Linked DNA regions of Homo sapiens: regions 1, 2, 3, 5, 6 and 7 are each linked to region 4. The links are contacts of gene promoters, found by promoter capture Hi-C in blood cells and fetal thymus (Javierre and others, 2016). All regions are on one chromosome and are shown on one strand. The core of a region is centred on a gene start or on the middle of the fragment in contact, and the rest is flanking DNA. Distances in the headings are between cores, read along the strand shown. Region 1 has its middle 40 kb from the start of DNAJC21. Region 2 overlaps DNAJC21 (DnaJ heat shock protein family (Hsp40) member C21). Region 3 overlaps PRLR (prolactin receptor). Region 4 holds the start of CAPSL (calcyphosine like). Region 5 has its middle 5.6 kb from the start of AGXT2. Region 6 overlaps AGXT2 (alanine--glyoxylate aminotransferase 2). Region 7 overlaps PRLR (prolactin receptor).

Region 1 (3,059 bases), core at 493-2,992, 970 kb before region 4:
GATTGAGACCATCCTGGCTAACATGGTGAAACCCTGTCTCTACTAAAAATACAAAAAAATTAGCTGGGCATGGTGGCGGGCACCTGTAGTCCCAGCTACTCGGGAGGCTGAGGCAGGAGAACAGCGTGAACCTGGGAAGCGGAGCTTGCAGTGAGCTGAGATCGTGCCACTGCACTCCAGCCTGGGCGACAGAGTGAGACTCCGTCTCAAAAAAAACCAAACCAAACCAAAACAAAAAAACAAAACAAAACAAAAAAAACTCTGATCCCTGAATGCTCAGGCAGACTGATGTGAATAATATAGTAAAAAAAACTCTGGACTCTTGTACAGCCAGCTCGGCATGAATAACTCTTTGTCTATTGCAATCCCTCTGTCTTGATAAATTGGCTCTGTCTAGGCAGCAGGCAAGGTAAATCCATTAAGTGGTTACAGTATTGCTGGAGGACAACCCTTGGACCCTCATACAGTGCATGCACATGCCAGCAGTGGCAGTGGTGGCCTTGGTGGGCTAGTGTCCAGCACATGGAGGTACTGGTGGCAGTTGGGGTGGGTCCATCCTGGATAGTGCATGCATGTGCTGGTGGCGGTGGGTAGGGTAGGACTATCCTCAGGCCTCCAGACAGTAGGTACAGGTGGTGGCAGTGAGCAGGAGGAGCTGGTCTGTAGGCCCCTGGAAGGTGTGCATGGGCGCTGGTGGGTGGCAAGCAAGGCAGATTGATCTCCAGGTCCCCCAGTGGCATGCATGGAGACTGGCTCTAAAAGGGTTTTAATCACAGCACTTTTTTTGTAAAAGAAAAATATTCTAAATAACCTAAATACCCATGGATAGCTAATAAGTTATGATACAGCTACAAAATGATTTGCAAGATATAGTATTAAGGTAAAAAAAAGCAGGATGTATTTGTGTAATATGGTGGTCGAAGGACCACTAACAGTGACTATCCATGGTGAGGTAAACTGGGTGATGGAGAGAAGAGATAAGGGCTGGAGACTCTTTTGCTATATCACCTTTTGTGCTTTTGGAATTTCATACCAGCTTCACATATTGGTTATTTCTAGAATTTTATTATTGTGGTAGGCAAAATTTAAAAATTCCCCTCACCTGAGAGTTCTTGTCCTGGAACTCAAAAATATGATTAAAATATCACCCCTCTAATTGTTACGTTATATGGCACAGTTGACCTTAAATGGGAAATTACCTGGAAGACCCATGTAGGCCCTGCAAGTGGGCTTTGAGTCATGTGGGCAGGCAATTCTGGGGTTCTGGGTATCTGGATTATGGTCTAAACCACAGGGCTTTGTGGATTCCTTGTTCCCTAGGAAGGGACATGGCAAAAGGAAGGCTAAGTGGGGGCTCTGGAGGAGGCAAAATTTCCCTTTCCTCTTAGGCTCTCTGGCTAGGCTTGAGAATTAAATTGACATAAGATAGATGAATAACAGAAAAGCATACATACTTTATTTAGTAATTTTTACTTGTACATGGGAGCCCTCACAAGAAAAACGAAACTCAAAGGAGCAATTAGGGCTGAAAGCTTACCTAACAGGCTGGACAAAGAATAGTAAAGTTTGAAAACATGACAAAGAGGTTTGGGGTAGAACACTTAATTGTGGAAAAGTGGCTAGGCAGATAAGGGTTAGTTTAATAAGGTTTTTTGGTACCCGTTTCTCTCTCAGCTTTGACACCCCATCTCTGAGAATAAGAGTGTCTTCCTTCCTCCTGGTCAGGGAGGGTACCTTTCACATGAGAGTTTTATCTCTTGCTTTGAGGAAGAAAAAGGAAGATCAGAATGCCATTCTTGCACCTGCTGTTTCTTAAGTGCCTTTAACTCAAAGTAATAGATATGCCAAAATGGCACATTTTGGGGTGGCATGCTCTTTATCCCTACAAAGCCCGGTCAGGGACCCTGCTACCTGAGCTTTAGGGCAATAGTGTTTACATGACTTCTTTTCCATGAAGCTTTCCTAATATCTCCTCAGCCTGAGTAAGTTTTTCCTCCCCTGAACTCCTTTATCACTTAATTCTTACCATATGTTGCCTCAGGAAGAAGACATTGAAGCTTTTAGAAGGATAAACTCTACTCATGAATAGTTGCATCTCAGGAACAGGAGTAGAAGGGGTAGACAACATGTGTTGTAAATTTCAAAACAAACTTTCAAAAAGCATACATTGCTTCCCATTGTCAGGAAATGTTTCATATGTGTAAGTCACGACTTCTGTACTAGACTGTAAGCTTCTGAGGACAGCAGCATATTGAATCCTTGTATCTACTATAGGACCTAATATGTGTATAAGGATGCTTAATGAATATTCATGAAGTGTATGTGAGTAAGTCAACCTGAGACAGAGAATTCTATCTGCATCTGTGTCAAATAGTATGTTTTTGATGCAAGAAACAAAATTTCTAATGAACTTAGTTAATAAGGAAGTATATTATCTCCCAAAACAGTTAAAAGAAATTGTGCAGGCTCTGGAAACAATCCATGGGGGCTCCAGTTCCATTTGTCTGCTAATATATTTGTCTTCCCTATCTCCTGTGCTATCTTTGTCCTCAGGCAGCCTTCCCTCATGGTCAAAAAATGGATGCCAATATCAACTGGGACAGAATATTGTCCTCTCACACTGTCAGGAGGGGGCTTTGGAGTGGGGGGCTCAGAAAAAGAGAGAGAGAGGGAGGGAAGGAGAGAGAGAGGAAAAACCCTCTTCACCCATCATGAAAAGTCCCTCCTTTCAGTCTGAAAGGGCCAACTTGAGTCACAGGGCCTTTGAAACCTGTAGCCATGGGAATGCCCCAGGAGGACTGACTTCCCACAAGTGGGATGGCATTGCTATAATTGGCTTAGAGTATCCAGGAACCTACCCTGGAGTTGGGGATGGAGTTAGCTTTTCCTGAGTCACTTGGGGAACACTGAGCCAAATCCCAGATCTCTTAGCAAGAAACCTGAGCAAAATCTCGTTATCTTAGGAAGGAGGAAGCAGGAGAGTGGACGCTGGGAAGGGAACCATTAGGGTAAACAACACCATCTAAGAGAGATTAGTCTCCCTCCTTTGCTTCCTTTCT
Region 2 (3,193 bases), core at 179-2,678, 990 kb before region 4:
GAGGCCAAGGCGGGTGGATCACAAAGTCAGGAGTTCAAGATCAGCTTGGCCAACATAGTGAAACCCCATCTCTACTAAAAATACAAAAATTAGCCGGGCGTGGTGCCATGCGCCTGTAATTCCAGCTACTCAGGAGCCTGAGGCAGGAGAATCGTTGGAACCTGGGAGGCTGAGGTTGCAGTGAGCTGAGATCACGCCACTGCACTCCAGCCTGGGCAACAGAGCAAGACTGTCTCAAAAAAAAAAAAGTTGGAGAAAGGAGATAGGAAAGCTTTATTATTACAGAAAAATATTAATTAGTACAAGTGCAAATGACACAAGTAATAGAGGGAGAAAATCACTCTTCTACATCCACCAGTATATAAATGTTTCAGGCAAGAATCATTAATAGATGCCAAGTATATTCGGTAAATGGTCATGGGGACAGGATATTCACACAGTCTCAGAGTCACACTCTGCAGATTACTTATTAATTTAAAAAGGGAAAACATACTTTACAGTTGAAAAATCTGGCAATACCACCCTAACCAAATGATCAAACTTAATAATATCACTGAAAAATGACAAACTCATTTTGCTTCCCGGGATTATAGTATTATGCTAGAAATGTTTAACCTGAATCTGATCATTTGGAAACAACCAAACAAAGCCAGATTATGGGACACTCTACAAAACATCAAATTGTCAACATCATGAAAGACAAAAAAAAAGTGGGGGAGCTGCTCTAGAATAAAGGAGATTAAAGGTACCTGACAACTAAATGCAACATGTGATCCTTGATTACACCCCCTATCCTGTATATCCCTATACAGGAAAAGGAGTAATTGGTAAATTTGAATGTGGGTTGTGTAACAGATAATATTAGCATTAGATTCTTGAGTGTGAGTATTGTGCCAGAGAATGTTTTGATTCTTAGGATGTACCTGGCAAAGATTCATATCTGCCTGCAGCTCACTTTCAGATGGCTTGGGGAAAAAAGTGTGTGTTGGGAGAGAGAAGAGATGGAGAGAGCGAGCACAAATGTGCCAAAATGTTGCTTGAAAACAGACAGGTACGCTTAGGATATGTTTGCCAGGCGTCTTTCTTTTATAATGCCTGTTTGTTGTTGCCATTGTTTGTGACTGTAGAAGAATAGTTGCTCATTGCTTATCATTTGGAATATGGAAAAGTATCATCCTTAATTTTACCTGTAGAGATTACTTAATAAAGAATTAAATTGTGATTACACTATGTATAATTTTCTTTCTTCTACTTTTGCTAATATGTTGTAAGTATTTTTTCACATAATTGAGTATCTTTGGAAACATGATACTTAAGCACTTCAGAATTTTTCTTCATATATTCAGCCATTCACTTTTTGAACATTTGGATTCTTTTCAGATTTCCCTTAATTTACTATCACTGTAATGAGCATCCATGTTCTTAACTTACCTGCTTCTCCTTTTTATTTCCCGAAGGTATATAACTATTTGGCAACATAACATAAAAAGCTAGTAGTAGTATTATATTTATTTTGTAACGGCACATATGTTTTATTACCTAGAATTATGATGACAATTTCAATGTAAATGGACCTGGAGAAGGAGTAAAGGTTGATCCAGAAGATACTAACTTAAATCAAGACAGTGCCAAAGAATTGGAAGATAGTCCCCAGGAAAATGTCAGTGTCACAGAGATCATTAAACCATGTGATGATCCAAAAAGTGAAGCTAAAAGGTAAGTCAAAGTTGCATATTATTTGTAAATTACTGAATATTGATAGTAAGGATGTAGCTTTTCATATATCAAATAAAATCTTCTTTCCCATGACTGACCAGGTAATTTAGATGTATCTGTACATATTTATGTATAGATACACACACACATATGTATACAGATGAAGAGCGTTGAGAAGAGGATGCTAGAGGAATGTGCCCACACACATCTCAGCAGCATGGCCAAAATCAGAAAGATGTCACTTTGATCCAGTTCTTGTTTACCTTATCCTGCTGTGGCGCTGATTTTGTCGTGGATCATTAACACTTGACACTCACATGAGAACAAGACTCCTGCTGCGTCCCTGGAGTGTCACTAAGCAAATCTCCATGCTCACGACAGCAGCCTGTGTTGGGCCCCACCATGTTGTGAGGACACATGGCAGCAGCTGGGGCCCTTCCTGCTCAGAGGAGCCCTGGACTCTTGGTGCTGCACAAGGCCATGGTGTGGACTAGGAGGAGGTCTCACCCAAGGGAGGTAGCCAGTCCTGTTCTCTCCTTCCTCCTCTTGTCTGACTTTCTTTTCCCCATCCTCCTCGGTTCCTCTAGAACAGAGAATCATTTCTTATTTCTTGAGGAAAGATCTGATAGTGAGGAGCTTCAAGTTTCTGTCATTACAGAACCCTGAAAAGAATTAAAGTGAGAGAGCAAAGTGGGAGCATGACGTGAAAATGCTAACACTGGAGCAACAGTGATGGGGTGGGGAGTGTGTGTACTTCGGAGTTTAAGGCACTTAGTAGTAGGAAGGAGGAAACAGATGTGGGTGAGACCTACAGTATGACTCTGGCTATAGAAAAAGGTATATAAAGAACTACACAAACTGGTAATGTTGAAGCTTTGAAGAACTTTGGAGAGTTGAAGCCTAGAAAGGGAAATTCACATGTATTTCACTCTGACACCAGGTGTTTGTTCCCTTTCTACAAATGGGGAAACTGAATTTCAGGTTAATTGTCCAAGGACAAAAGCTATTGAGTAGAAAGGCTGACACTTCATTCCATCTGCCTGACAACTTGAAGGCACCCAGATCATCTGACTCCATGGAGCCTGTGTGTCCTGTGGGATGGGCACAAAGAGTGGGCCAGGAGGTGGGGCTCTGGGCCCCTGAACCCCTTTTTCATCTAAAACTAAAATGTTTTCCATGTTACTTCTTTTTTTTTTTTTTTTGGAGATGGAGTCTCGCTCTGTTGCCCAGGCTGGAGTACAGTGGCGCAACCTCGGCTCACTGCAACCTCCGCCTCCTGGGTTCAAGCAATTCTCCTGCCTCAGCCTCTCGAGTTGCTGGGACTGCAGGCATGCACTGCCACGCCTGGCTATTTTTCTGTATTTTAGTAGAGACGGTTTCACCATGTTGCACAGGGTGGTCTTGAACTCCTGACCTCATGATCTGCCCGCCTTGGCCTACCAAAGTGCTGGGATTGCAGGTGTGAGCTACCGTGTCT
Region 3 (3,050 bases), core at 268-2,767, 820 kb before region 4:
ATATAAAAGGCTGCAAAATGGACTGCGGCACTTTGGGTCAAGTCTTGGACAGGAATTGCAATTTTACTCTTAACTTTTAATCCCCTCTTTTAAGGAGGGTCCCCCCCTCTGAATTCTTCTATGAATATTGCTTTCTGGATGTTCTTTTCACCCTGAAACTGAGCTGTGTTTCTGTTTCTCTTGGATGACCATGCAACTGCTTTCAAGTTCCTGCCTGTGATTTCACAGATAGCCACTGGAATCAGAAGTATCTTTGTAATCCAAACACCAGGTTGGGAAAGGGTGGAGGATGATGGAGGCTGGGTGCAGGGGTCAGGGAAGATCAATCAGAGGAATAAAAGGTCCATGAGGTGCACTTAAAGATGAATAGGAAGTGTGTGTACAAACCCTAGGGCTTTGGAATTTCCTTTTAGGGCCTTGGTTTGCCAATTGGTACCACAGATAAATCTGCTACTGCCACCTTATCTACTTTATACTATTTGGTTAATTTTTTTTAAAAAAGGATTTCTGGTTAAGCCACTCTTTAGAGTGGTGACCTGTTTGCTGTAAAAAGTTAAAATTATATAAAGTGAAGTGGAGAATATGTCTCAAATCTTTTGAGCAATAATGTTGTCTATGAATACATGTCTATGAATAATGAATACACACACAAATACAAAGTAGCGGCCAAATTTTCCGGGAGCTTTGCAACACAGCTCTGACTACTGGGTGCTTTCTGACCTCTTCAAACTCTTAAAGGAAAGGTCCACTCAGTACTCAGCATTGCCCTGTTCTCCTTCATTTGCCTTTCCTTCCAGTAAATAGCATGAGGCATTTGGCATGAAGGGGTAGAAGCCAAGACGGGAGAAAGCACAGAGAAGTCTGAATGGGTCGATTCACCACTTCCAATGTTACCAGATGCTCCTGGGCAGGGCTATTATGCTGTGGGGCACTCTTGTACCCAGAGCGTTTTGATGACTGATGACACTTCTTCTGCAAGTATTTGCTAATGTTATTGTGAACACTATAAATTTCAGTCGATTTCCATGAAAAACAAAAGCTTCTGCTGGGCTGAGGCAACTTAAAGCAGTGGTTTTTGGTAGGATAATTTTGTCCCCACCTGGAAGACATTTGGCAAAGCCTGGAAACATTATTTTATTGTTACTTCTGTTGGGGGGAGTTTTGTCCTCCTTGGAACTGTCTGGAGATGTCATTGGTTGTTAGAGCTGGGGTGGGGTGGTGTCCTTCTGGTATTTAGTGGGAGACACCAGGAATGCTGCTGAGCATCAAATGATGCACAGAGGAGCCCCACCACCCAAAACGATCCGACCCAGAATGCCTACACTGTTGTTTGAGAAACCCTGGCCCAGAGGGCAAGTTCAGGCTCAGAACTTGACACCAAAGCGGCATGATGGCTCTCAAGGGGCTATCATGTTTCAATGTGGGAAGACTAGTAAGTTTCCCTAGATGGCCCCAAGAAGTCCCAGGAAAATTTTGTCTAGGATTTTCTTCAACCAATAACTTCATTGTTTTCCTATCTTCCTGGCTCCTTAACTTCCTCTGAATGAGAGAGTACAGCCTCAAAGTCGTACATGTCGAGCTCATCTCAGTGGGTCCAGATCCCATTTGCCTGTAGTGTAGACAGAGGGAAGTCAGGGGGCTTGGTTTCTCCATCTGTAAAATGGAGTCGTAATACTTCATGATCTATTTGCTAAGCAGTCCTGGCAGCCTAGGGTTTCCTTGCCACTGGCAGATGAGAGAAGACCCAGAGCCTGTCACACATGAGTCCTGCCATGAGGGCTGGGAGGAAGGAGACACAGCAGTAACATTACGGGGCCCAGAAAGTTGTGGCAAGAATTTATGTAGAGTTGCTTAAGAAAATAAAAGCAAGCACAATATTTCTCTCTCTGATTATAGAAGTAACATAGTCATTGTCGATAATCTCTCAATTACAGAAAACTACAAGGAGAAAATAAAAATCTCTCATGATTGCACCACTAGGAGATATCAGCTATTAAAAGCTTTGGTATTTTCTTTGAGAAAAACAGAAAAGGATGAACATCAGTTTTTCTGAGCTGGACAGGCTGGGGAGACTGAAACAGCCTTTGAAGACAGCAGAATGTGCCAGTGTAGACATTGACTGGTTTGAGATGATATTCTGTAAACCAAGATAGTTGAGCCCCTGCCCTGGATGAAACGGACAGTGGGGCAGATGGGTGGTGTGACCGAGGGGCATGAGAACAAGTCCCCCTTACCTTCAGGGTTCATGTGGAAAGCATCCTCAGTGTTCGCCTCCATGAATAGGAGAGTTCTTTAGCTGAAAGAGGAAATGATTCATTTTAGCTCCAAGATGACAAAACGGGAGATTCCATTTCTGGCTCACTCTGCAGTACGTAGCATGGCTGAACATTGGCCCCTCAGTGATAGGCATGAGACAGCTCTAGTGTTCTGGAATTTGTTTTTTGGCAGCTTTATTTTGAAGTAATTTTAATCTTACAGAAAAGTTATAAAATAGTAAAAAAAAAAAAAAAATCTCATATACCCTCGACCCACATACCTCAATTGTTACTATTTTACCACATCTGATTTATAATCTTTCTTCTCTGTATATAAAAGTTACTTCCTAATTATTTGTGAACTAGTCACAGTCATGATGCATGTTTACCCCTAAATATTTCAGTGTGTTTTCCTAAGAACAAGGACAATTCTCCTACATAAATGTAGTACAATAATTAACGTAGGAAAATTAACATCGACACAGTATTATTACCTAATCTATAGAGCTTACTCAAATTTTGCCAGTTATCCTAGTTGGGATTAGATTTCATAAAATTTGGTCCTGGAGACTTTAATGAAATTTCTTAACAAATTCTGACATAGTTATAGATGAACTGGAATTCTGGGTTTTGTATAAGAACTTTCAGACTCTGGGGACTGACTAGCCTGAGTCTCGGAGGCATGAAGGGACAACTGTTAGAGGTATGGATCTTTTTTTTTTTTGACAGGGTCTTACTGTGTCTCCCAGGCTGGAGTGCAACGGCGCAATCACAGCTCACTGCAACTTCAACCTC
Region 4 (3,121 bases), core at 442-2,941:
ACCTATCTTCCTTACTCTTTGCTTCAGGAAACAGCAATACCATTTACCTGGGTCATTAACTGACCATTATCCTAGACTCTTCCTAACCCTTTACATCCAAATAGCAGCTAAGTCCTATAGAGTTTCACTACCTTGACACATCCCGCATTTCCATTCCCTCATCTCCATTGCCATGGATACTGACTCAGCCTAGGACATGGTCACTTCTCATTTCCACCATTGCAAATGTCTCCTAGTTGGTTTCCTGCCCCTAGCTTTGCCCTCTGTACTTTGTCTTTCAAAAGACTGAGCAATCTTTAGAAAATGAAAACATGAACTTCATGATATAGTTTAAGACCCTTTGATGGTCCCCCATTGCATACAGGTAAAATGAAAGTTCTTAGCATTGAATTCATGCATTGGCCTTTCCTATGTCTCCAGCCATTTCTAGTAATTCTCCATCCGTTCAAAATCTATCCTGCATCTCTACTCACTCACATTCCCCAAACACACCATAGCATTCTGTATCTCTGTGCCTTTGTACATGTAGTCACACTTGCAGGTACACCTTCTTTTTCCTGTTGGCCCAGAGAAGTCCCACCCATCCTTCCATGATCATGTGGTGAAGTCCAAATAGCATTCACATTGCAAGACAATGTAATTCGTTTTCGAATTACTTGCCCTGCTAGACAGACTATAAGGTCCTTACGAGGTAGAGCTGTATCCTTTGCATTTACTATCACCATATCATCAGGGCTTAGCAGGAGGCTATTTTATTGCTATTAGAATTTATCATTGTCATTGCTATTGGGTAATTTTTATCAGAATATAAATACAAATGTATGCCTGAAATTCAAATCTCAATATTTAAAACTTTCAATAACAAAATAGATTTTTGTGGTTGTAGGATTTGAGGAAAAAATAAGTCAAAAAAAAAAAACAGGTAAGAATTTCATCTACTTAATATGGTTTAAATACTCCCCAGACTGAAGGCAATAGAGATGGCTGCCTGGGTCATTGGTGTTGTCCTTTAATGAGAACGTAAAGGACCCCCTCAAGTCTCTGATGAATCAAATCAACTATTTGATATAATTTTGAACAAGCCATGTATGTACACTTTAATAAGCATCCTGATTTTTATTCTGATTCTCAGTTGTCAGTGTATAGCAGAAATAGCATAAGTTTAAGTATCAGACAAAGCAAGGTCTGAATGAAAGTTGAAATGTTTTATTGCTTTGTGACTTGGAAATGCTGAACCTCCCTGAAGCTCAGTTTTATCAGTGGTCATCAGGATCGTTAGAGCAATTCACCCAAACCCTTCACACTCAAATACCTAGTACCTAATGACTGCTCAGTAATGTTTACTTCCTTCCCCTTTACTGAATGAAATTTATTTTTGTGCATTTTTATCTAAGCATTTTTTTTGCAAAGATTACAAAAATCTTTCCCAGTACCAAGCTCTTTCCTCTTGCACTGACAGCCTAGTGATGGCTTCTCTAGTCCAAGAACTCTCAAAAGACTTTTAGATTTTCTTTTTAGAGAGTAACATCTACTGTCTTCTTTTCTCAGCTAAGACATACCAAGAAAAAAAAAAACATTAAATCATAGAATAGATAAAAACATTGATTTACCTTAAATGCTAACCTTTTGCCACCAGTTGCTTCGAACTGAAACTATGGACGCTGTCTCCTGCATCTAGGAAAACTGGTCCCTCCCAAGCCACCTTAGCCTCCTCCCTCTTACCTGTCTTCCTCAGGGGCCCTGGTCCACTCTCTTAGTATTAATTGGAGGACCTGGGATCACTGCTGCAGATTCACAGCCTGATTGGCTCAGCTCACTGTCAATCTCTACTCTGGTTCTGCCTTTTCTCAAGTTTACACTCCTGTTGCCTAGGAAATCTCAGTGACTGTGAAAGCTCAAGCCATTTGCACTGGGAGAGAAGCCAGCCAGAAGTTTTGCTGGCAATGGTTTGGTTTCTAGAACAGCATCAAAACTTGTCTCCCATGTTTTGTAAGGTAGTATTCAGCACATTGTCTTCTTTCTTTTAGGCAGCACCTTCCTGTCCTTCTGTAGTCCCCAGAAAGCTTACTGCTAGGGTGCCTCATTGCCAGGTGATACTTAAAACCACAACTCTTGGGAGCAGGCAGGGGTAATTATAGGTGATTCAAGGTTCTCCCTCCTTCTCTGCATTTGCAGAGGATGTCATTTCTGCTGTTTTCATCCTTGGTTTCTTCTCTTCTTTTCTCTTTTTGTTTCTTTTTACTTATGTTTTTCACATGTTCCCTAGCAGTTACTTTGCCAGATAAGAAGAAATCTAGTGGCTTATTTGGAGGAAAATATCTACACTATGCTCTCTTTCATTGTGTATCTATGACATCCACCCTATCCTTGTCATTCCCACTCCTGCACGTCCTGCTTTCAGGAGCAGGCAGGTATAATTAGTGGTGATTCAGACCTTACACCTCTCTCTTTCTCTCTCTCTCTCTGACACACACACACACACACACACACACACACACACACACACACACACACATCTCTGTATATAACATAATCCTGGCTGTGTGCAACATCCTTGCAGTATAAGAACTCACAAAACGGAATAGATGCCAGGCACCCAGCTCTGCAGACTACTAGGCAAGTTCTTTCATGGATTTGACAAGGGCTTGGGTCCTTTGCTATATCTGCAGGGAGTATACATAGTAGCTATTTCATCCTTTTATCTGAATTGTCTGAAGAATTGTCCCAGAATTAAGCAATTAGAACTGTGGTTCTTCCAGGGCAACCTCAGATGTCTAATGTTTTCTTTTCAGTGGTTTAACCCACAAGATATCACGCATTTGAAACTTTTAAGAAGAAACTTAATTTCATCTGTGAATGCAGAAGCAAATATGAGGGCATGGGCATTTAAATATGAAGTATTTCTTGAAAGCCACCTACTGGAGAGTAAGTTTGGTGCAATAATTTAAGAAAAGATAAAAAAGAAACAGGAAAATTGGGACAACGGACAGCATGATGGAGCCACCGTGCAAGCCCTCAATAGTCTGCCTCCAGGTTGTGTCAAATAAAGTAAAAAGAACAAAATCTCTGGAGTACTTAAGCAATGCTTTTGCTTGTTTCCACTGCTAGCAACTGGTGTAAT
Region 5 (3,480 bases), core at 611-3,110, 880 kb before region 4:
AAAGAAACTTACCAGAGAATTACCACTCCCAGGAAAATCCAAATTAGCAATATCAGTATCAGAAAAAATAGGTTTTAAGACAAACGTGACCATTATAAATAAAGGGGATTGTATGTAACAATGAAAAGAATAATTTATTTGGAGGATTGAACATTTAAATCTATATACGCCCAATAATACAGCTTCAAAATATATAAAGCAAAAACTGATAGAATTATAATAAATAGAAACTTACTTAATCCTAGAAGATTTTAACTTACTTATAAATCACCTCCAAAAACGATATCTTAAGCAGCAAAAAAGATGAACCTCATTAATGCAAAAATCCTAAATAAAAGTTTAGCAAATTGAACCTAATAATGTTTGCAAAAATACTTCATGTATAAGTGAGGTTCATCTCAAGAATGCAAGGGTACTTTAACCTTAAAATATACTCTCTAAAATAATTTTCTGTAATAAGTTACACATTAATTAACAGAGAAAAGCCATGTGAACATATCAATAGATGTAGAAAAAAATTTGAGAAGTTTTAAAATCAGTTAAGATAAAAAATTGTTAGCAAACTAGAAATATAAAGGCATATCTTTCACATAACTAAGGGTATCTGAAAAATTGTAGGGGCCCAGCAGCAGTTCTCTTTGACCTGCTGCCCTCCTGTCTGGTCCCTCATTCTCTCCAGAGCCTGGCCATAGAAACTGGAATCTCACTTCCCCAAGGCAGGTCATGGAAACTGGAACCCTCTTGCCCCAAAGTCAGCTTTACAGTCTAAAAATATTACTATAACTTTACACCAGACTTTCTGTGTAAAAACTGACTGTAGATAACCTGACCTATCTTGTTTGACTGTAGGTCATAAGACCCCCTTTCCAGAGAGGGTCCTGCCCCATACCCAGAAGGAAGGAATGGTGAGAGGCATTCCTACACAGAGAGGCTAAGAAAAATCTAGACAGACAGGCCTTGCTAGGTTTTCTCACTCAGTCTGTCGGCATTAGGTCCAATCATTTTCCTACAAGGCTGTCCGTACTTTGTTGAAACTAAGCATAAAAATGGACAGTTTCCTCTGTATCTTTGGGTCTTCATTCTGAAGGCTCCCATGTCACATAAAACTATAATCAAATAAATTTGTATGCCTTTTCTCCTATTAATTCAACTTTTGTCAGTGACTTTTAGTGAACCCTCGGAGGGCAAAATGGCAGCTTTCCTTTCCCCTCTACAACACCTACATGATGCCTTATATGTAATAGTGAACTTTTCATAGCATTCTCACTAAAGTCAGGAAGAAGAAAGGATGCCCATAACACGTTTCTATTTAACACTGTCCTGGAAGCCCAATAAAATAGATCAAGAAAGAGACATAAGAGGTATAAAGACTGGAAAAGAAGAAACAGTGTTGTTAGCTTGTGGTGATACCGTTGTAAAAATTGAAAATCCAAGAAAACCTACAAATTATAAGAATGTTAATTAGAGTTCAGTAAGGTTACAGAATGCAAGATCAGTATTAAAACATCAGTGGGACTGGGCATGGTGGCTCACGCCTGTAATCTCAGCACTTTGGGAGGCCGAGGCCGGCGGATCACCTGAGGTCAGGAATTTGAGACCAACCTGCACAACATGGCAAAACCTCGTCTCTACTAAAAATGCCAAAATTAGCTGGGTGTGGTGGTGTGGGCCTGTAATCCTAGCTACTCGGGAGGCTGAGGCAGGAGAATCACTTAAACACGGGAGGTGGAGGTTGTAATGAGAGGGTACCTAGGGATGAATCTAATAAAACATATGCAAACATTTATAAAGAATAATGTAAAGTTTTATTGAAGCCCAATGTAAAGGAAATGATATACCATGTTCAAGATTAGGAGGCACAATATTATAAAGATGTAACTTCTGGCATTAAAACATAAATTCAATCTAGCTCCCAACACAATTTTTTAGGAGACCCGATAGGCTCATCTGAAAATTCATATGATGAGTAAATGGCCAAGAATGGCCACAACAATTTTGAAGAAGGGTATGGTGGTGTGAGAATTAATATACCAGATAACAAGACTTTGTATAAAATATGGTAATAAAACAGTGGAGCACCAGGACAGGAATAGATACACAGAAAAATGGGCCAGAAAAGCCTGGACTAACATTTGGGCATATGTAGACACTCAGAAGATGACAAAGATGGCATAAAAGATAAGCAGGAAAAGGATGAGTTACTCAGATACAAATGGATTCATCAGGGAAATAAAAAGTAAAATAACAATGCATCATTTTATGCTCATTGAATTGTCAAACATTAAAATATCTGACTGCATCAGGTAGTGATAAAGATGACGAGAAATGGAAATACTACACTGATGGCAAGGGTACACATCAGTAAAACTGCTTTGGAGAGGAAGCAATTTGTCAGCATCTAGGAAATATTAAGATATGCATTTTACATGACCCAACAATTCCACCTCTAGGTGTATATTTTGGAGAAACTTTTGCACATATTCCAGTGAGACTGGCATAGGAATGCTCATTGCATAGTCATTTATGGCAGTGAAAATCAAATGTTGCTAAATAGGGGGATTAATAAATAGTATATATGTGTAAAATTATAGCAGTGGTATACACACAACTTTTGTCATTTATGGCAATGAAAATTAAATGCTGATAAATAGGGAGATTAATAAATTATATGTATATGTACAATTACAGCAGCTATATGCATAAAGCAGTGAAAATTAGATGTAGATAAATAGGGAGATTAATAAACTGTATATGTGTATACAACCACAGCAGTTGTATGCATAAAGCAGTGAAAATTAAATGTTGATGAATAGGGAGTTTAATAGATTGTATAGATGTATAAAACTAAGCAGCTGGAGCTATTTGTATCTCAAAAACCCAATGCCGAATGAAAGAAAATCAAAGTGCATAAAGATATCTGCTATTTTTTATGCAAAACTCATAAATACCAAAGTAATTGGTCATATTATTTAGGGATAGATAAATATGAGGTGAATGCATTTTAAAAATAGCTGGGAAGGATATGTAATAACTTTAGGATTGTAGTTACTGCTGAAGAGAGAGGTAGAGAATTTGGTTGTTGAGGGATGTAAATACAGCATCTGTGATATTAAATGAATCTTTGTTAAAGAAAGGAACAGACAAGGCAAAATATGAATATTTAAAGATTTGGATGTGGGTAAATGAGCCTTTGTTATGTTTTTCTATATATGTTCAAGTATTTGTGAAATATTTTATGCAATAAATAAAAGATCACAAATGGATGATGAACTCACAGCTGGTTTTAAGTAAAGACTGAATAATTCCAGTCAGGAAAACACGAACAAAAGAAAATGTGAAACTTTGGTCCTGAGATTTGTGGCTTGTTAAATGAAAGTTGATCATATCTCAGGTTTGGAAACATGGGAAAGTTGATCGAATCTCAGGTTTGGAAACTCTCCTTTTGATTGTTCTTTGTTGTTCCCAGGAGAAGTTCCAAGA
Region 6 (3,384 bases), core at 388-2,887, 910 kb before region 4:
AAGAGGAACATATAGCAGGAAAAGAAGGAAATGACCACCTTTTAGTGCTTCCGTCTACTAGGCTCTGTGCTGGTGGTTTTGCAGTCAGACCAGGGTCTGGGAGGTGCATCAAACTGATTTTAGTTCTTGATGCCTTACAGATGCAATATTCAAATACGGCTTTACCAGGCATTGCTATGGTCTGTTTTTCTCTACAAAAGTTCTCCGTGCCTCATCTCATGAAGTGCCGTGATGGTGTTGGCAGCAGCCAGATATTGCTGTCTCTGTTTTACAAATGAGAAAACTGAAGCAAAAGGTGAAGCTTTTGCTCATAGCTGAACCATGCCAGGGCTGAGAGTGGAATCCATCTCTTGACTTCATGCAGCTCCTCAGTCCTGGCCTGTGGAATAGGAATGCTTTTTCAGCTTGGGTTTATCTTGACGGCACATCAGTGTGGATGAGGATGGCTATAGGAATTGGGAGCACTGGCTTTGGAGTCAGAAGACCTGGGGTAAAATCTTAGCTCTCCAGTCTCCTCCATGTGAAACTGGCTTTCCTGATGTTTAAAGTGGAGAGTTTGATTTATAGCTTTACATTTCCTTCTGGTTTTAAATTCCATGAGCGTGACATCTTGTCTTCTTTCACTACTTACTCTTTCATTCTCTTACCTCCATTTTGCTATTATGTCATCTGAATTTTAAGACGATGGTGAATTTTTTTCCTTTCAGAGCTGGTTTTTAAGACTTCTGTTTTGTATTTTTCCTCTCAACCCAGTGATTCATACTATTCCATTAAAAATCACTGGGCTGAAGCATTTAGTTATTTCCTTCAGAAGTACTAAGGAGCGGCTATTAAAAAGGTTGTGATGACAAATCAGAGGCAGGGCTTGTTGATTAGCAAGGAACAGATGATGTTTCCTGCCTCCTCTCCCTCCTGTTAAGCGTAGGTAAAGAATGCGAATAAAAATGTGATTGGTAAATGGAAGTTCTCCTTGTGAGAAAGCCTTTAAAACTTTTGCCAGGGTTGTCAGCAGCCTGTAGGAAGGGCAGCCTTGTGTTTTGTTTGACGGATGCTCTCATTTTGGCTGGCAGTCCCTGGAGAACTTTTTGACTGGAGTTTTGAGATTGCCAAAAGCATTATTTTCCCTCTTTCCACTGGTATGGGTTAATAATCCCACCCATCTTGATTTCTTGTTTTTTTTTTTTTTTTGGTTGTTGTTTAGTTTTTTCATTTTAGAGATGGGATCTTGCTTTTTTTTTTTTTTTTTTTTTTTTTTTGAGATGGAGTCTTGTTCTGTTGCCCAGGTTGGAGTGCAGTGGCGTTATCTCAGTTCACTGCAACCTCTGCCTCCCAGGTTCAAGTGATTCTTGAGCCTCAGCCTCCCGAGTAGCTGGGATTATAGGTGCACACTACCATGCCTAGCTAATTTTTGTATTTTTAATAGAGACACCATTTCACCATGTTGGCCAGCTGGTCTCAAACTCCCGACCTCAGGTGATCTGCCCGCCTCAACCTCCCAAAGTGCTGGGATTATAGCTGTCAGCCACCATGCCCCGCCGGGCCTTGCTCTTTCATGCAGGCTGGAGTGCAGTGGCATAATCATGAATCACTGCAGCCTCGACTTCCTCAGCTCAAGCAATCCTCCCACCTCAGCCTCCCGAGTAACTGGGACTACAGGCATGCCACCACGCCCAGCTTGTTGTCTTTTAAAATTGACACCAGAGCTATTGCTATTATAATAGAGCTAATAGAATGCCTTGAATCAAGTACCAGCTGATAGTCGTTTTTTTGAGCTTGGCTCTGATAGCGTGAGATGCTTTTCCTACATGGCCAGACAGATGGTCTGAGAGTGAAGTGATAGCAGACATAAGCGTTGATTCAATGAGGAATAACTTGGTTACTTTCCAGTTTTGCTTCCTCTGGCTTTTCCCTTTTCCATGTTTTCAAATTCAATTGTTCCCTCAGGGATGGGTCTGCCTTTATTCGTGTCCCTTCCAACTTCCAACACTCCACTGGCACCCCCCTTGCCCAGTCGGACCTGGTGCACAGCTGCACTTCCTGATTGTTTGCACTGGAGAATCTCGACAGTGGCTTCCTCCCCAAGGGCCACGAAAAACATCTGGACACATTGTCTGCAAATGACAAAAGAAGGAGTGTGGCAAAGCATGAACACAAGACAGCCAAGTTAGGGTAGCATATGGCTGCCATCAAGACAAGAGGGCTTCTTAGTTTTCCTCCCTCATTCTTCCCCCACTTAAGATGAAAATTGAAGGATCTGCTTTGAAGAGATAATTTTTTCTTAGAAATCAGCTATGTGGGCCCTCTACAAAGGAAACTGATTTCAATGTTAGCCTGGAAACAGCTTGCTCAAGGGTGCAGTGGGTAAGGGCATCTGAAAGAATAAGAATAATTAGGTATCTGATTCAGATGCTGAAAATGTGGGTACAGTAAGTGGGAACAGAAGGTGAGTACAGTGATGACTGCATAGAAGTTTTGTGCATTCAAGATTCTCAGAGCCTTGCAGTTTACTTGATTTTATTTAAAAGCAAAATACATTTTAAAACTCTGTCATTAATTATTACTCAGACTCGGAAGGCCTTTCTAATGGTGTCCTCAAGTGGTCTCCAATTCAATTAGGTCAAATTGAGCCCCTGATTAATGACAGGCTTTATATTAGTTTCTAATCCTTATACCAGGAAAACCTGATCAACTACTTCACATACCCAGCAGTCTTTAAAGAAACAAGAGAAAAATCTCCAAACTCACTGGTTGGCAACCTGTCCCACCAGGGAGTTCCATCTTGTAGGTCCCTACGTTTGTCAAGCCAAGTGTGTAAGGACTGCATCCATGGTAGGCTCCTCTGCAGAGAAGAAACAACAGGAGGATGGGGTCAAGTTCCTGGTCCACTGAGTAGGACAAAAGAGAAAACCCAGGAAGGCTATGAAGATGAAATAGAACATCATTCGCATTCACCTCTGATTTCTAAGAACGCATCTAAGCTTATGTCGGATCAATGTACTTAATAGTCTTTTCTAACTGTTGTTAGAAAACAGATTTGAAACTGTGAAAGGAATTTTGGAGAACATTTGTCCAAGAACTCCAATCTTAGGACCTTCCCTACTCTATTATTCCATAGTAATGAGACTCATCTTTTAGCAACAACATACCAGAAATTGTATGTTCAATGAATACCAGTCTTCGAAGTAGTCGCTTTGGGAAGCCAAATATTTTTTCCTATGATATACCTGTTGTTCAATATCTTTAGGGACTTACACACCTTATAAATCACCTTATTCTCCATCTAAGAAACACAGGTTTTGTTTCTTTTGAACGTGAAACAGTCATATTTAGTATAAATGCTCCTAATCATCAGTGTAAGCTTCAAATGAGTTCGAACAATTTCCC
Region 7 (3,002 bases), core at 132-2,631, 840 kb before region 4:
CTGAAAGTGGGTAGAAATAACACACAGTAACGCACTGAATGACAAACTTTGCCCACTGTAGACTGCATATATGGTGGTGGTCCTATAAGATGACAATGGGGCTGAAAAGTTCCTATTGCCTAGTGATGTCAGGGCCATTCTAACATCGTAACGTAATGCTTTACGCCGTGTTTGTGGTGACACTGGTGTAAACAAATCTACTGCACTGCTAGTCGTATAAAAGTAGAGCGCATACAATTATGTGCAGTATATATACTTGATAATAACTATGTTACTGGTTTGTGTATTTACTATACTATACTTTTTATTGTTATTTTACAGTGTACTCCTTCTACTTATTAAAAAAAGTTAACTGTAAAATAGCCTCAGGCAGATCCTTCAGGAGGTATTCCAGAAGGCATTGTTGTCATGAGCTGACAGCTCCGTGCATGCTATCATCCTTGAGGAACTTCAAGTGGGACAAGATGTGGAGGTGAAAGACAGCAATAGGGACGATCCAGACACTATGTAGTTCTAGGCTAATGTGAATGTTTGTGTCTTAGTTTTTAATGAAAAAGTTTAAAAAGTAAAACAAAAAAACTTTTAAAAATAGAAAAAAGTTTATAGTATAAGCATATAAAGAAGGAAAATGTTTCTGTACAGCTGAACAATGTGTTTGTGTTTTAAGCCAAGTATTATTACAAAATAGTCAAGGCCAGGCACGGTGGTTCACGCCTGTAATCCCGGCACTTTGGGAGGCTGAAGCGGGCAGATCATGAGGTCAGGAGTTTGAGACTAGCCTGGCCAACATGGTGAAACCCCGTCTCTACTAAAACTACAAAAAAAATTAGCTGGGCCTGGTGGCTGGCATCTGTAATCCCAGCTACTTGGGAGGCTGGGGCAGGAGAATCATTTGAACCTGGGAGGCGGAGTTTGCAGTGAGCCGAGATTTGCAGCGAGCCATTGCACTGCAGCCTGGGCGACAGGGCGAGACTCTGTCTCAAAAAAAAAAAAAAAAAAAGTCAAAATGAGTTTAAGAAAGTTTATAAAGTTAAGTTACAGCAAGCTAAGGTTAATTTATTACTGAAGAAAAAAATTTAAAAAAAATTTGGTGTAGCTTAAGTGTACAGTGTATATAAAGTCCACAGTAGTGTACAGTAATGACCCAGGGCTTCACATTCAGTCGCCACTCATTCACTGACTCACCCAAAGCAACTCCCAGTCCTGCAAGCTTTATTCATGGTAAGTACCCTTTACAGGTGTACCATTTTAAAAAATCTTTTATACTGTGTTTTTACTATACCTTTCCTATGTTTAGATACACAAATACTTACCATTGTGTTACAATTGCATGTAGTATTCGGTAAAGTAAAATGTTGTATACGATTGTAACCTAGGAGCAATAGGCTATCCCATATAGCCTAGGTGTGCAGCAGATTATCCCATCTAGGTTTGTGTAAGTACACTTTATGATGTTCAAGCAACAACAAGATAACCTAAGGATGCATTTCTCAAAAAGTATCCCCATTGTCAAGCGATGCATGACTGTACTTCTAGCCTAGTCCTGGTCTTTAAAGCTTTTTACATATTCCCCCCTCTATTTCTCTCTCCTCCATTACTGGCCTGAAGAAGATGAAATTGAGGACTGTGAGGTCCTAAAAGCTCAGTACAGCCAACAGATGAAAGGCTCTTGAGTTCATGCTGACCACCAGCAAACTGTCACATGGGTGAGAAATAAACCTTTGGCTGTTGTGCTCTGAGCTAAGAGGCTGGGTGTTATAATGGCTAGCTTTATTTAGTTGGGCAAATCTAGGGACAATCCAGAGACAACCAGTACAGCCTACTGCAGATGGTAACTACTACATTTAACCAAGTAGAAGAGCAGTGATTAAGACGGAAGCCTCCAACGCCTGACCCACTGCCATTGTCCCGTCTGGAATACCATCATCAAAGTTCCAGAACAATCTCAGTTTGGCTTCATCTACATATTCAGCCCCCTACACTGTCACCTGTAAACATGTCTACAGGTGTTCAACAACACCTGTTGGGTGACTATTTTTATAAAGTCATATAGAATGCAGTATTCTCATGTACAGATCCACGGAAACAGCACTTGGCCTTGAGTTGTGCAACTCTTTTCCATTAATCAACAGGCTCTCCATATTCCTAAGGGATAGGTTCTGAGACCTTCTTGATTCCTCCAGTAACCTCTTTGTGTGCATTAATTTGAACTCAAGGGCAGATGGATGATGAAGCCCACTGAGATGTGGCTGCAAGGTGGTTGGGTTAGTAGCTGAAGTGAATAAAAATCGCAATATCAGAAATCAAGGAAATGTGGAGACTTCAAGAACTGGGACAACCTCCATTGTGAAATCTTCAACTAGCAAGGCAATAATAATTCTCAGCCCATTCTTCCTTTTCCTTCATAAATGCACACAATTAAAACATATTTTTCTGGCATCATCATGTCTAAATATCTAAAGCACACCCTTTCAGGAATGAAAACACATATATATATAAAAACATACATATATAAATATAAAACATATATAAAACATATATATAACATATATACATATAAAACATAAATATACCTTATAAAACATATATATAACTTATAAATAACATATATATGTTTTATATATTATATATATATATATTTTTGAGATGGACTCTTGCTCTGTCACCCAGGCTGGAGTACAGTGGCGCAATCTCGGCTTTCTGTAACCTTTGCCTCCCAGGTTCAAATGATTCTCCTGCCTCAATCTCTGGAGTAGCTGGGATTACAGGTGCGTGCCACCATGCCCAGCTAATTTTTTTGTTTTTTTAGTAGAGACAGGGTTTCACCCTGTTGGCCGGGGTGGTCTCCATCTCTTGACCTCGTGATCTACCCGCCTCGGCCTCCCAAAGTGCCGTGATTACAGACGTGAGCCACCACGCCCGGCCAAACTTTTAATCTATTGGGTGCACACTTCTAAAAATGAGGCGCTTCTCTGATTTCCTAATTGAAACTTTTTATGGAG

What was found. The method cuts DNA at HindIII sites, captures the fragments that hold promoters and counts their contacts. A CHiCAGO score of 5 or more calls a contact.
Region 1: a fragment that was not itself captured here is called in contact with the fragment with the promoter of CAPSL in region 4 in 2 of 17 cell types (naive CD8 T cells and naive CD4 T cells); the score reaches 6.6 in naive CD8 T cells.
Region 2: a fragment that was not itself captured here is called in contact with the fragment with the promoter of CAPSL in region 4 in 1 of 17 cell types (naive CD4 T cells); the score reaches 6.5 in naive CD4 T cells.
Region 3: a contact is called between a fragment that was not itself captured here and the fragment with the promoter of CAPSL in region 4, in 5 of 17 cell types (total CD8 T cells, naive CD8 T cells, naive CD4 T cells and 2 more). The highest score is 8.1, in total CD8 T cells.
Region 5: a fragment that was not itself captured here is called in contact with the fragment with the promoter of CAPSL in region 4 in 5 of 17 cell types (naive CD8 T cells, M0 macrophages, naive CD4 T cells and 2 more); the score reaches 6.7 in naive CD8 T cells.
Region 6: a fragment that was not itself captured here is called in contact with the fragment with the promoter of CAPSL in region 4 in 1 of 17 cell types (monocytes); the score reaches 6.4 in monocytes.
Region 7: a contact is called between a fragment that was not itself captured here and the fragment with the promoter of CAPSL in region 4, in 14 of 17 cell types (total CD8 T cells, naive CD8 T cells, naive CD4 T cells and 11 more). The highest score is 18.9, in total CD8 T cells.

What each region holds. Positions count from the first base shown.
Region 1 is chr5:34,967,998-34,971,056 of GRCh38, forward strand. No RefSeq gene overlaps it. Among named protein-coding and RNA genes, the nearest start is that of DNAJC21, 40 kb to the left of the region's middle. The HindIII fragment of the contact is 425 bases long and covers 1,531-1,955 here.
Region 2 is chr5:34,948,627-34,951,819 of GRCh38, forward strand. It overlaps DNAJC21 (DnaJ heat shock protein family (Hsp40) member C21), which reads left to right. Exons shown (of 12, transcript NM_001012339.3): 10 at 1,544-1,716. Among named protein-coding and RNA genes, the nearest start is that of DNAJC21, 21 kb to the left of the region's middle. The HindIII fragment of the contact is 2,318 bases long and covers 270-2,587 here.
Region 3 is chr5:35,115,827-35,118,876 of GRCh38, forward strand. It overlaps PRLR (prolactin receptor), which reads right to left. Exons shown (of 10, transcript NM_000949.7): 2 at 2,235-2,296. Among named protein-coding and RNA genes, the nearest start is that of AGXT2, 69 kb to the left of the region's middle. RefSeq lists an enhancer at 1,616-2,815. The HindIII fragment of the contact is 961 bases long and covers 1,038-1,998 here.
Region 4 is chr5:35,936,931-35,940,051 of GRCh38, forward strand. CAPSL (calcyphosine like) reads right to left here and starts at 1,692. Exons shown (of 5, transcript NM_001042625.2): 1 at 1,611-1,692. It overlaps CAPSL-DT (CAPSL divergent transcript), which reads left to right and starts at 1,871. Exons shown (of 2, transcript NR_104630.1): 1 at 1,871-1,994; 2 at 2,793-3,063. The HindIII fragment of the contact is 5,426 bases long and covers 1-2,061 here.
Region 5 is chr5:35,051,858-35,055,337 of GRCh38, forward strand. It overlaps a transcript of PRLR not described here. Among named protein-coding and RNA genes, the nearest start is that of AGXT2, 5.6 kb to the left of the region's middle. The HindIII fragment of the contact is 4,296 bases long and covers 1-3,480 here.
Region 6 is chr5:35,030,715-35,034,098 of GRCh38, forward strand. AGXT2 (alanine--glyoxylate aminotransferase 2) reads right to left here. Exons shown (of 14, transcript NM_031900.4): 6 at 2,746-2,839; 7 at 2,018-2,111. Among named protein-coding and RNA genes, the nearest start is that of AGXT2, 16 kb to the right of the region's middle. The HindIII fragment of the contact is 2,677 bases long and covers 300-2,976 here.
Region 7 is chr5:35,099,203-35,102,204 of GRCh38, forward strand. The region is part of intron 2 of PRLR (prolactin receptor); the gene reads right to left. Among named protein-coding and RNA genes, the nearest start is that of AGXT2, 53 kb to the left of the region's middle. The HindIII fragment of the contact is 346 bases long and covers 1,209-1,554 here.